Linked DNA regions of Homo sapiens: all the other regions are linked to region 1. Evidence: promoter capture Hi-C in 16 types of primary human blood cells and fetal thymus (Javierre and others, 2016). All regions are on one chromosome and are shown on one strand. Each heading gives the region's core, a stretch centred on a gene start or on the middle of the fragment in contact. The rest is flanking DNA. Distances are from core to core; before and after follow the strand shown.

What was found. The method cuts DNA at HindIII sites, captures the fragments that hold promoters and counts their contacts. A CHiCAGO score of 5 or more calls a contact.
Region 2: the fragment with the promoter of DEFB113 here is called in contact with a fragment that was not itself captured in region 1 in 1 of 17 cell types (erythroblasts); the score reaches 5.1 in erythroblasts.
Region 3: a contact is called between the fragment with the promoter of DEFB110 here and a fragment that was not itself captured in region 1, in 2 of 17 cell types (megakaryocytes and erythroblasts). The highest score is 7.2, in megakaryocytes.

Annotation. Positions count from the first base shown.
Region 1 is chr6:49,525,458-49,530,037 of GRCh38, reverse strand. GLYATL3 (glycine-N-acyltransferase like 3) reads right to left here. Exons shown (of 6, transcript NM_001010904.2): 6 at 1,960-3,550. The coding sequence ends at 3,124. Among named protein-coding and RNA genes, the nearest start is that of C6orf141, 23 kb to the left of the region's middle. The HindIII fragment of the contact is 8,083 bases long and covers 1-4,580 here.
Region 2 is chr6:49,967,978-49,972,468 of GRCh38, reverse strand. DEFB113 (defensin beta 113) reads left to right here and starts at 2,844. Exons shown (of 2, transcript NM_001037729.1): 1 at 2,844-2,901; 2 at 3,602-3,792. The coding sequence starts at 2,844. The coding sequence ends at 3,792. The HindIII fragment of the contact is 3,298 bases long and covers 1-3,230 here.
Region 3 is chr6:50,019,847-50,024,273 of GRCh38, reverse strand. DEFB110 (defensin beta 110) reads left to right here and starts at 2,280. Exons shown (of 2, transcript NM_001037497.2): 1 at 2,280-2,393. The coding sequence starts at 2,339. The HindIII fragment of the contact is 4,807 bases long and covers 855-4,427 here.

The DNA of each region.
Region 1 (4,580 bases), core at 1,017-3,516:
GTTATCATCTATATCAGTTATCTGTTATCTATATCTATATTTATATCTATATCTATATCTATATCTATATCTATATCTATATCTATATCTATATCTGTTATCATCTAAGTCAATACATCTATCCCAAATAAATTCTCTGAGATTTAGACTCAAATATCCAACTTGGTCCCATCACTTGCATGTTTCAAAACTCAACATCCCAAAACTGAACAAACAATTTTCCCTGCTACAAATTGCTCCAGATCTGAGATTTTTCCAGGGTTTCTGATCTCAGTGAAAACTATCACCAGCTGTGGCTTTCACAACGTAGAAGCCCAGTAGTCATCCTTGACATTTCTCTCTCAGCATACCCTACAGCCACTAAATTATTAAGTTCTGACAACTCTTCCTTTTAAATAGTTTAAGTAACTGTTCACTTTTCACCATTATCATTGCTAGCATTCAGATCCAAGCTACCACCACCTTTTGCTTAGCTTATAGCCTCCCAACTAATTTCCAAACAGATTAATGCGCTGCTTAAGGCTTTTTTTTTGGTTTTTATATTACATTGAAGAATTTCCTTGAATTAACAAATAAAACCTATGTTAATCAAGCCTCTTCCTACTTCTTTTTGTTGAGACACAGTCTGGCTCTGTTGCCCAGGCTGGAGTGCAGTGGCGCTATCTTGGCTCACTGCAACCTCTGCTTCCTGGATTCAAGTGATTCTCATGCCTCAGCCACCCAAGCAGCTGGGCTTACAGGCATGTGCCACCATGCCCAGCTAATTTTTGTATTTTTAATAGAGATGGGTTTTTGCCATGTTGGCCAGGATGTTCTCTAACTCCTGGTCTCAAGTGATCCATCTGCCTTGGCCTTCCAAAGTGCTGGAATTACAGGTGTGAGCCCCCACGCCTGGCCCCGTTTCTACTTCTTGAGTTTTTCTCTTCTCCTTGTCCTCTCCTTACTCCAGACTTTCTCTGCACATGCCTTAAAAGGGTCAGAAACAGTGTTAAAAGTTGAGCAATTATATCCAACATAGTTAGCTGGAAGATGAAAGTAAGAAAATAGTATAAGAGCAATTTGGTAGGAACAAAAATCTTTCAAATATGGGGTCTGTTTTGGAGGTGCGGGTGAAGGTAGAAAATTCAGAATGTAACGAGATAAGGGAATAATTATTTACAAACTGTTCCAAGCTGCTTAAGAGGCCAATTAGCATAATGACTAGTAGTATAGGCTTTGCAATCCAACAAACCCATGTTCTGATCATGATTTGGCCACTTAGAGCCTGCATGACTTTGGTGACTCATAACACCTCTAAGCAAGAATTCCCACAACAAAGCAATACCTTATCCCTCACCAGGATTAAGTTATATACATCTCATATTTGGTACAATTATTAGCACATAGTTAAACGTTAAATGTCAGGCAAATTATCATTAGGAAGAAAATAAGGCTATAATAATATTGCTATATATCAAGCAGGATTAACTCATGCTTAAGCGATGCTAAACATAATTAGCGTCCTTAGGGCATATTCTCCTAAGAGGTTTATGGACTCTGGTTACTTGGTGCTTTCCCCTCTGGATCCAAGGCTAGATAAGTTTCCAGGTAACTGTGGGCTCAGGATGAACTAAGCATATATTTACTCTTACTGAGTCCTATTTTTTTAATTAAAATGTGTTTTACTTCAGCCAGTTTGCTTCCTTTTCTCAGAATGAATGCCTGAAAGTTGGATTTTCCCTTATCTTTGTAGTCAGAATTTTGTGACCTCCTTGGGGATAAGAAACCAATATTTTCTATATAGCTAAGTCAACATTATCAAGACAAGGCAAATCTAACTATTGTGTTAGTGCCTGCTTTTATTATAAATAGAGAACAGAGCTGGTGATGCTTATCTCTTTCTTTACTGACCTTGAAAGGTATACATACACAAGCAATCAGAACCCAAATTAAGAAATAATGACAAGAATAAGAGAAAACTAAAATTAATATTTTAATTATGTAAGCATTTTAATTTTCATTATAAAAAAGGATACATGATTTAGTGAAAATAACAGATTGGAATTAAAATGGCAGCATTCTGGCTTTGCCTCCAGTACTGATTATAAAGAATATAATCTTGAAAAAGTCATTTATTTTCTCTGGTCCTCAAATTTTTCATATGTAATCAAAGGGTTAAAATTTATTATCTTATCAAAATTCTATGAGTATATACCTATACATATAAAAGAAATGAAGAGAATGTATATATATGTGTATGCATATATGTTATATATTCATTTGCATACCCCCAAACACCCCTATATATAAATCTTAGTTTTATATGGGAAAGTAGACTATAAATAAGGGGGCTGAAATAGGTTATAGGTAAAGTCTAGTTCTATGGTGACAGCATTTGTTTATAGCATCAAAATGCCCATATTGTCATTCATCCAAGGCAAATAAGCAGTGGGAAGCTGTTAGAAATGCAAATTTTGGGCCCTACCTCGTAGAAGGAGAGGCCTAGTGATGTGTGTTGCAACCTGCCCTCTGGGTGATTCTGATAAACACTAAAATGTAAGAACCACTATATTTGAACATTCCCAGGGCAGTGAACTATAGGCTAGAGTCCTAGGCAGAAGTAAAGAGCAAGTAATTAAAGGGGAAAAAGGAGGTTACTCTACAGAGAACTTGGTGGCAGAGGTGTTAGGAACAGAGGTTGATGAGACATAGCAGTGGGGACAGGGGAATATGATGGCAGTAGGGAAGCGGTGTGGCTTTAAGAATACAGAGCAGAGGTCCAAGCAGCAATCAAAAAGCAGTAGCCACGTGGTCCTCTGTTAAATCATTTGTTCTCATGCAGTAATTTCTCCTAGTACACTAAAACTGCTGGCTTTAGAACCTATTCTCCTACAGTGGATCCTACAGGAGGACAATCGTCCTCAGTCTTCAGCCACAGCTACTCTTCACCCCCACAGCTATTTACTGGAGAAACCTGAGATACGAAAAATTAAGGCTTCTCAAGTGGATCCTGTATATATTCTCCAGACCCTTTCCAACAACTCAAGAGTCCCCTGATTCCCATTTTAACTCTCCCCTCGTTGGCAGCCAAGAGTGTGTGTATGCTCAGGGAAAGTAATAAAACCACTGCAGTTTTTTACTGGGCTAGAGGTGAGGCAGGCCAGAGAAAGTCGCAGGGGTGAGAATAAGCCTGTGGAAGCGACAAGGCAAGAACTCAGCATGGAGACTCTTCAGGAGGCTTATAGACGCCGTGTTGTCATCCAGGACGTTCCCCTGAGAGGGGAATCCCCGGCTTTGCAACTTCCTGGCCAGCGTGAGGGCCACCAGCCGGCTGTAACCTTTCCTGCGATGTTCTGGCAGGGTGTAGCCATGGCACATGGTGGCAAACTGGTCTGTGATGGACCAGGAGACCGGGTTTCCCTTCTCATCCCGGACACACACACTAGGGAAGCAGGAGATGAGGTTGGCGATGTACCGGAGACATTGTTCATTGCCTCCCCGGGACCAAGTCCGGTTGAGTAGATCCGCATTGGCAACACTCAGGTAGGTTAGTCGTGGGGAAGGCCCCTTGCTAGACCAGAATGACACAAAAACAAATAGGACCTCAGACTCATGTGGTTATACATAACTACACATTTTTTTTTTCGAGACACAGTCTTGCTCTGTCGCCCAGGCTGGAGTGCAGTGGCGTGATCTCTGCTCACTGCAACCTCTGCCTCCCGGGTTCAAGCAATTCTCCTGCCTCAGCCTCCCAAGTAGCTGGGATTACAGGCACCCGTCACCATCCCAGCTAATTTTTGTATTTTTAGTAGAGACGGGATTTCACGATGTTGGCCAGGCTGTTCTCGAACTCCTGACCTCGTGATTCACCCCTCCCGGCCTCCCAAAGAGCTGAGATTATAGGCGTGAGCCACCATGCCCGACCTATAACTACTCTTTTCATATTGGTTCAAACTGAGAAACCATCCCTGAGAGGGCACCTAAGATTTTCAGTGAGTTAGAATCCACCATTCCCGATTTACCAACACCTTTCCGGGTTTCATTTCTGAGAAGACAAAACACTTATTACATCAAATTTAAGTCGTTGCTTCTAATTTTATGTTCACTTGCTTTTGCCTTCAGCACAGGTTAAGGAAAGTGTTTCTGTTGTTAAATAAATTAAGTTTGGCCTGCAGCTCCCTCCATACCTTGAGTCCCCGCGTGTTGAACTGCAACCTAACTTGACACAAAACCAACCCTAGAACTATAATGCACAGCTGAGTTTGTTATACAAGTCAATCACAGGCAGGTAAGTGAGCAGACCATGCCCAAATATACCTAACTGTTGCCAATCAGAGGATTTACCTACTTTGCTTCTGTGTCTGGCGTATAAAATCTCCCACTGGTGGGTATAACTCTGAACTTCTCATTCTGAGTGCTGCCAGATTCATGAACTGTTCTTTGCTCAAATAAACGTTGCTGAATTTTTTTTTTTTTTTTTTTTTTTTTTTTTTTTTTTGAGAGCCTTGCTCTGTCTCTCAGTTTGGAGTTGCGGTGGTGCAATCTCGGCTCACTGCAACCTCCACCTCCCCGGTTCAAGCGATTCTCGTATCTCAGCCTCA
Region 2 (4,491 bases), core at 1,595-4,094, 440 kb before region 1:
GGTTGGAAATAAGTAAAAGTTGTGGCAGAAAATCCAGCTACTAGCATCCGCCTATGCCATCTTGTGTTTTCTTGGTAATTCTTATTAGCTTCATCTGTAAAATAAATGTTGTATGATTCTTTCAGATTTGAAAATTTCTCAAATTGCCAATCAATGTCACTGTTATATAGAATTAGTCACGTAACGGATTTTTTTACTTTAAAGTTTTGTGGCCATCCGTTCATTGAAACATACTGTGTTTTGTGTTTGGGAGTGGGGAGGAGTTGCAATAATCCAGTGACTGGTAGTGAAGAGCAAAGAATGGGAACGACGTTATGGTTTTTCTCTGCAAAGAAACCATATGTTGTTTTAGGCTGTTATTCCTAAAATGTGGAAGCTGAGACCCAGTGACTGACTGACAAACCAATACTTTATTGGTATTGACTTAAAGAAAGTATCAAAATTTTGATTAGCAACTCTTGTAAGAGAATAGCATTGCATTTGGTATATTCTTCTGATCATCTCTCTTCTCAGCATCATACCCTTTACTTGTATTCCCAACATCCACCTCTTGGCCTAGAAAAGTCTCCCTCATAGGCATTTCTCAGCTGAACATCATAAAGCCTAACCACCCTCTTTTACAAAGAACTTACCTCTCCAGAAATCCTTCCCTGTAGCTCTAAACTATACAATTACCACCTGTGATTATCTAACATTGTAAGAAGAAAGATAAAACTTTTTTTAAAAAATCTCAAACTCCTAAATTCTGATTCAATTAAGTAGAAATATGAAGGCTCATCCACCTTACTATTTAATTCACACATTTCAGGTCAATTCTCTATTCTTAAAAATTTTCTCTGTACCTCCTCTTTTTTCCCTTAATCACAACACCAATCTCATTCTCACCCAACTTTCTTCATTTTTGTCTCTTTCTCCCTTAAAAAATCACAATCCCTTAATCACAACCCCAATCTCATTCTCACTCAACTTTCTCTATTTTTGTCTCTTTCTCCCTAAAAAACAAAAAGAAACAAATAAAATGATTTTGTAAATAGAAATATACAATCTGGATTTCTCCCCAATTATACCATAAGATGCACATTGTAAGCAATAAATAACTCAATTAACTTGCTTTCTATGCATCTTGTTTGATTCTACTTATGTATTTTCCTGGGAGAAGTGAGGCCCTTACCTTTGTTCAGTGTGATTCAGATATAATTTTACCCAACTTCACCTTTAAACAGATAGGGGAAAATATGCAATTTATGAGTTTAGCTGATGGGCCAGCTCAATAGAAGTGGCTTATTTTATACTGATAAATTGGATATGGTAGCACTGAAGCAAAAATGGGCCCTATTGTCCAAGGTCATTTTCTTACACATGCTGTCACTATGATACTGCCCGCTTTTTAAAATTTGCCATTGCTATCTTTCTCTGCTTACATACAATTAGTTTTATTAAATCTCCAACAGTTCAAAGGGCTCTTTTTAGCATTTTATAGGGAGAAAATATTGAGAAAATAGATTTTTCATGGTCTGGCTATAAATACATAGGTACCTTTTGAGTGAGGAATGAAGTACACAAAAGACAAGAGGACTGGACTGCTGCTTTTTAAACTCAGATTACATAATATATTTCTAATTTATTTCCCTAAATGACAGAAGGAGTTAGAATATAAATTAAATACAAATATAAATAAAAATAACGATCTCATCTAATGATAATATAATATCATTAAGTTGTAAGGATACATCTTTTTGGATTTAAAAACCCAGCTCTAGATTTATGAAAGTGGACCAAATTGTTTAAATTCATATATCAATTACTTATTTATTTTTTACATGTTTTCTACTTGATCCTTGCTATGAAAACTCCAAATATGTTTGGTCCTACCAATCTGGACTTCAAGAAGAGACTCCTAAGGCTTAGATAAATGAATATTTATTCCAAATATATAGATGGTAAACTGAGAACCAGACCCCAAGATTGGTTTTCCCTACCTAAATCTAGTGCTCTTTAGATTCTTAACACACTGCTCTCTCCTATGAATAAGATAATTTCATGACTGAGTCATCATTACATGGCATGTAAATAATGATACTGATTATCCTTATAGTGTAACTATGATAATTGCTAGTATAACAGTATTAAAACAGTGATATAGAAATACTTTCTATTTCTAGAAAAATTGAATCCCAGAAACAGTGTATGGTTCAGGCCATGTGTACAGAGAATAACCACACTTGATGCAAACCCAACATACAGTTGAGAGAATGAGGAGGGTGGAGGCTGAGAGAATGAGCTCTGTCATCATATAACCTGATAATTAATCTCTACTCCACCAATGACTACATGTATAATTTGTGAGCCATTACATATTCTGTCTGCGTCACAGTTTTCTCAATTGGAAATTAAGAAGTTCCTATGTTATAGAATTTGTCATGAGAATTAATCCTTATAAAGTTCTTAGAACAGCCCCTGGTACATAATAAATACTCAAGAAAGCATGTAGTCAAAAATGTAAATGATGTTGATTATGTGCTTTCAATTAATTAGTGACCAAGAATACTTTAACCCCATTGTTTACTTACAAAAATGAAATGAATTCATGTTTGGCTCACCGAGGTTGTAGCAGCACTAAACTCTCTACTATACTTGTTTGCTGTTTCACAATGCTTACATGAATATGCACTCAATCTGGAAAGTCAGCATTAATCAGAATTGTAGGCAGCATTAATCAGAATTGTAATCACGCCAAGAAGGCTGTAAAAACAAGAACCCATATTTCTTTTACCAAAGACTAGCACAACTCTGAGACATTTTGAGATCTGTCCCCACTTTACTCAAGTGTAACTGCATCAGCAATGAAGATACTTTGTATTTTTCTGACCTTTGTCTTCACTGTGTCTTGTGGTCCATCAGGTAATATTTGTTATTATAAAAAAGATGTGAAAGGCAAAATGTTCTTATAAATGCTTTACTCTGAAAATAATAAAAACAAATAAATTATTGTTAGGAGATTTCATATGAACTCCTTATAAGGCAATTTTCTCTATTTTTTCATGGGGGAAGAAATGAGTAGAACTGGTAGTTGAGAAAATAATTTTTAAAACTTCCTGAGATGTAGAATTAAATTTATTTATTGTGTTGTTTTGTGTGATGACACTATAATTTTTTAGATACTTCCCACTGCCTTCTGTTTCAAAATCAATTTTACCAACTGCTATTGTAGCTACCATCAAAATTAAGCTTTTTACAGCCAACCTAATGATTGCTAGGGGTAGAGAGAAAAGGGGTTGGAGGTGGATGATTATTTAGAACACAGAACATGTAGGCTATTTCTTCCATGTCTTTTTCTCTTTACTCTTGAGGAAGCACACACAAATTAGATATTTAAAAATGTTCTATTTATTAAATGATAATTTAAAAAGCTGGTGACAAAAGCAATATTGTTAGATAAATAAGTATATTATACCAGCTGAGAGAGGGAAAAATTTCAATAGAGTTGCTTGGGCATGATTTCAGAAACAAAATGGTTTAACTCTACATTTTAAAGAGTTTATTCATCTCTGTATCTAAGGATATTAAATCTGGACTTATGGTCATAGCTACTTTTTCCTAGTTCCACAGAAAAAAACAAGAGAAGTTGCAGAGAGAAAAAGAGAATGTCAGCTTGTTCGTGGTGCTTGCAAGCCGGAATGCAACAGCTGGGAATATGTATATTATTACTGCAATGTTAACCCCTGCTGTGCGGTATGGGAATACCAAAAGCCAATCATTAACAAAATCACTAGTAAACTCCATCAAAAATAAATTATAATTATAAAACACTGTATAACAATTTTACTAATAAAAATGAATTTTTGCTATCTATCAATCTATATTTAAGTTGTTGATCTCTGGCCTTCTGGATTACACAATTATACCATGGCTAGTGAATTCAATGTTGGCTTAGTACAAGAGAAATAAAGAAAAAAAGAGTGGTAGCATCTTCTTCATTAAATTGGCAGAAGTTTATCTCCAGCCATGAGACAGAGGACTTTTGATTCTTGTTCTCTTCATCTCTGACCTATTTATTTGCCTGGTACAGAAACATTTATTTTCATATGATCTTTCATATAGTAAACATAAATTATGGTTTATGTGCCTTCTCTTAGTTTCCATATAAATGTGTTTGTTTCTTGGACACAAAGTTATATAGATGCTAATCACATAATAACAGAAGACTGATAAAAACAATTTTAAGAAAGAGCTAATCAAACTGAAAAGGGAGTAAAATGGAATATATTAACACCTTACCCATGTAAAAATACATCAAAAGAGAAAAACAGCAGGAGGAAAAACACTAAACCCTAAGAGTAGTTATGTTGGAGAGATGAGTTCATGGCTGATTTATTTACTTCGTTATAATATTATATTGTTCTACATATATACTTATAATTTTGTGATCAGGATAAAAGCAAATTAAAAACATCTTAACAGCTTTTTAAATTTTAAAATAATATGAAAATT
Region 3 (4,427 bases), core at 1,031-3,530, 490 kb before region 1:
TATATTCTTGATGAATTGACCATTTTACTATTATCCAATGTTATTCTTTGTCTCTGGTAACAATTTTTTTCTTAAAGTCTATTTTCTGTTATGTCAGTTTAGTCTCTCCAGTTTTCTTTTGCATAGGATATCTTTGTCCATTCTAATAGCAAAACCAATTGATAAGGGATAAATGCTCTGTATTAGAGATACAGTTATCTTTTTTTTTTCTTTTTAACCTTTGTCAATAGAGTACTTTCTATTCATAGGAATCCTTTCTTAGTCTTCTGTATGTTTTCTGACTGCAACAAGATGAAATCAATTCAAAATCAATTTGAAATCAATAACTGAACTCTTAATTTTAGTGCTCAATAATATTTGTTGAGTTAAGTGTTGCATAGTGATATACTGAAGTGGTCTTCCTCCTATCAACTAATGCTGCATTCTCAATTTTTCTTTTCTTTCCCAGAAAGGAAATAGATAACTCAAGTTCCCCATAATTGATTTAGTCCAAAAGTTGTTATTTTTATTTTATAATATGAAGCATTTGTTGCAAAGGATAACAATTACTAGGTAAATAAGTTCATCTATCTTGATTTTACTTTTCTCACCAGTAATGTGAGTATATTTGATTAGAAACTCTAAGCAGCTTTTAATTCTTTATTAATGTATGCTGCAGATTCTATGACTCTGTGAAACATTTTTCCTAGACATTATAGAATGAATGAGTTAGGTTTCCTAGACTAATATGTGGTCCCTTTCAGCAGCATTAGCATTCAATGATCTTGTTAGAAAAGCAAATTTTAGTCCCTATTCCAGATCTACTAAATCAGAAATGCCGGGGGTGGGACACTGCAATCTGATTTTAGCAAGCTTTCTAAGGGATTCTGATGCAGCTAAAGTTTAGGAACCACTGTCTTAAAAATTAACTATGTGGTAGGAAATAATTGATTAATTGATTTCTTTTTCTTTCTTTTTTTTTTTTTTTTTTTTTTTTGAGAGGAAGTCTCACTCTTTTACCCCAGGCTGGAGTGCAATGGTACAATCTTGGCTCATTGCAACCTCTGCCTCCCAGGTTCAAGTGATTCTCCTGCCTTGGACCCCTGAGTAGCTGGGATTACAGGTGCCTGCCACCATGGCCGGCTAATTTTTGTATTTTTAGTAGAGACGGGGTTGTTTCACCATGTTGGCCAGTCTGATCTAGAACTCCTGACCTCAGGTGATCCACCCGCCTCAGCCTCCCAAAGTGCTGGAATTACAGGTGTGAGCCACCACACCTGGCCAATTGTTTTTCTTTATAGCATCAGCTTCTGAGTACTGGGCAAAACTTCCAGCTCTTTCTCACATATCCAAAATAATAGTTTTTGCAAGCATGCAATTTAGATCAGATATGAAATTTTCAGTTCCATAAACAGAATTAAAACATTGAACCTGAAATTTTGAAATCAGATGACTATAGAAAATTTATGAATCATACAAAGACTTGGCCGGGCATGGTGGCTCATGACTGTAATCCCAGCACTTTGGGAAGCCGAGGCGGGTGGATCATGAGGTCAGGAGTTTGAGACCAGCCTGACCAACATGGTGAAACTCTATCTCTTTTAAAAATACAAAAATTAGTCAGGCGTGGTGGCAGGCACCGGTAATCCCAGCTACTCAGGAGACTGAGGCAGGAGAATCACCTGAACCTGGAAGGCAGAGGTTGCAGTGAGCTGAGATGGTGCTACTGCACTCCAGCCTGGGTGACAGAGCCAGACTCCATCTCAAAAAAAAAAAAAAAAAAAAAAGACATATAGAATATTTCTCACATTTTTAGTGAATCCAGAATTTACTGATTATTTAAATAATTGCATATTATATTAATTGAAATAAAGTTATTTAATCTCCCTGGTTCTCATTGTTTTATCAGCAAAACAAAACTGATCTCAATGGAAACTTTTTCTCTAAAATCTTATGATTCAGGCATTCAACAATTTTATACTAAGGCATTAGAATACTTAATATTACATATAACATAGAATAGAGGAGATGATTACTATAACATTTAGCAATCCAAACACATATCCCCTATAAATAAAATATCTTAAAAACTGTGTTGTTTTCATGAAAGTCTAGTTAAGGTTACACAGCAGGTTTTACTTTTATGAGAAAAATTTAATAATACTTTTTGAGTTCATGTTCTTTGAGGGTGGCACTATTCAACCAAGCATACAAATGTTCTTGCTCTTGATAAGCCTCAGTGGTTAAAAGTACTTCCCAGGAGAATCCACAAATAAAAGGGATCTCTGTTTCCTTATTTCAAAACAACTGACTTGAAAAAGGAGGTCTGTTGCCCCCTTTTTTTAAGAAACTCTCTACCATGAAGATTCAACTTTTTTTCTTTATTCTGCACTTTTGGGTCACAATTTTACCAGGTAATATGCAAATATTTGTGGGGATTTATACTAACAAATTTGAGAAGACATAAGTTGTTTCTTGATAAAAAATATGATAATAACATAGGGATTAAAACATCATTTCACAAAAATGTAATGTGGTATTTTAGATTGGACTCCAGAACAGATAATAAAGACAATAGTGAAAAACAGACAAAAATAACAAGTATGAAAACTGGCAAAATCTGAATAGCTTAGTAAATACTATTACATCAACATTAATTCGTTAATCTTAATTAACATTACCAAGTTTATGCAATATATAACATAAGTGGAAGCTGGCTTCCACCAACTTTGCAACTCTTCTGTGAATCTAAAATAATATCATAACAAAAAGTGATGTGAGACAGAAATGGAGAGAGATTTTACTTTGTTGAAAGTAATGATCAGAGACTTCAGACAGATTGGACTTGAACAATGTATTTGAAGGCAGAAATAATAATTATTGAAATATCGAAGTATCACTAGACCAGTGGTTCTCAGAGAGGAGTGAATTTGTGCTCAAGGGAACATCAGGCAACGTCTAGAGACCTTTTAGCTCATCACAACTTGTACTACTGGCACAGTACCAGTTGTAGATAGAACCCAGGATGCTGCTAAATAACCTACAATGCATGGAACAGCCCCTTAGAGCAAAGAATTGTCCTATTCAAAAGATCAATATTGCTTAGAGTGAGACACCATGCCCTTGAGCTTGGCATCCAATTGACAGGGAGTATATTTAATTGATACTATTTGAATGAGGAGATGAATGCTTGCAAAGGAGATTAGCAATCCAAGGACACAAACTGGAGAACACATGTAGAGGTCAGAATGAGGAGAAAGAAGACAATAATGTTTTAGAAAGGTGAAATAAGACAAAGAATGAATAAGAGAAGGGGTGGGGTCAGTCCAAGGTGCATTCATGGACAACAGTGCCAAACATGACAGAACTTTTGCCAAAAGTGAGTATAATTCAGGTGTCTGTCACGGGTAATCACATATGGGTTTGATAATAATAACTCCTCAGAAAATGTAGAATAAGTAATGATCTTTAGAAGTGAATATTTAAATTGTGCAGATTAACTAGATGCTCTTCTATGCTTTTGTTTCTTTAAGTTGCTTCATACTCTGAATTGCTTTGGTTACATTGAGAAGAAAGCCAATATTAATAGTAGGACTTGGTTTTATAGCCATTATACCAATGACATAGATAATGTAGCTCTGAGTCTATGTATTAGCTAACAGGTATTACTACTCACCATCAGGTGTCAGCTGTTGGAACTGCAGACAGACTGCCTAGGCCAAAAGGCCTGGCCTTTGAGAAGACCAAGCAATAATTAATAGCAGGAAACAGTGGCATAATTTATTTGTTTTCATATGTGAAAATATTAAATCTGTCCTTTGGTCAAGAATTTGATGTGTATACAAAAAAAAAAGGCTACAAAACAAATGACTTCTGAAAACGAATCGGCCAGGGTACAATTTAAAATATAAAATAAAAAAATTTTGACTTGGTACAATTTAAAATATAAACTTAAAAAAATTGACTTGGAATAGATCACATAACCAATCAAACCAATGTCCTCAAACCCCCTAAATATATTCAATTCTAAATAAGAAACTTCTAGTGAGAGTCCATCTTTAAGCTAAAAAAAAAACATATCTTTTCTTACAGCTTTGACTATTACAAAGTTATTTTTGTATTGTGTCAAATTTTGTGTTTCTTATAATGTGCAAATTTTAGTTGCAGTTTTGCTCTCCTGGACATGTCTTCTTGTGACCCCAGCTACAAATCCCTCACCCATTCTTTCATGATTGATAAGAAAATATAAAGCCAGAGTAGGAGTTAACACACTTTTTCTAGAAATAAGTGAGACAACCAATATTGTAGGTTTTATGAACCCTATGATCTCAACTGCATTATTTTAATGCAAAAGCAGTTATAGACAATGTGTTAGCAAATGGGTGTGTCTGCGTGCCACTAAAATTACTTCCAAAAATAGGTGGCAGGGTGGATTTGGCTCCCTGACA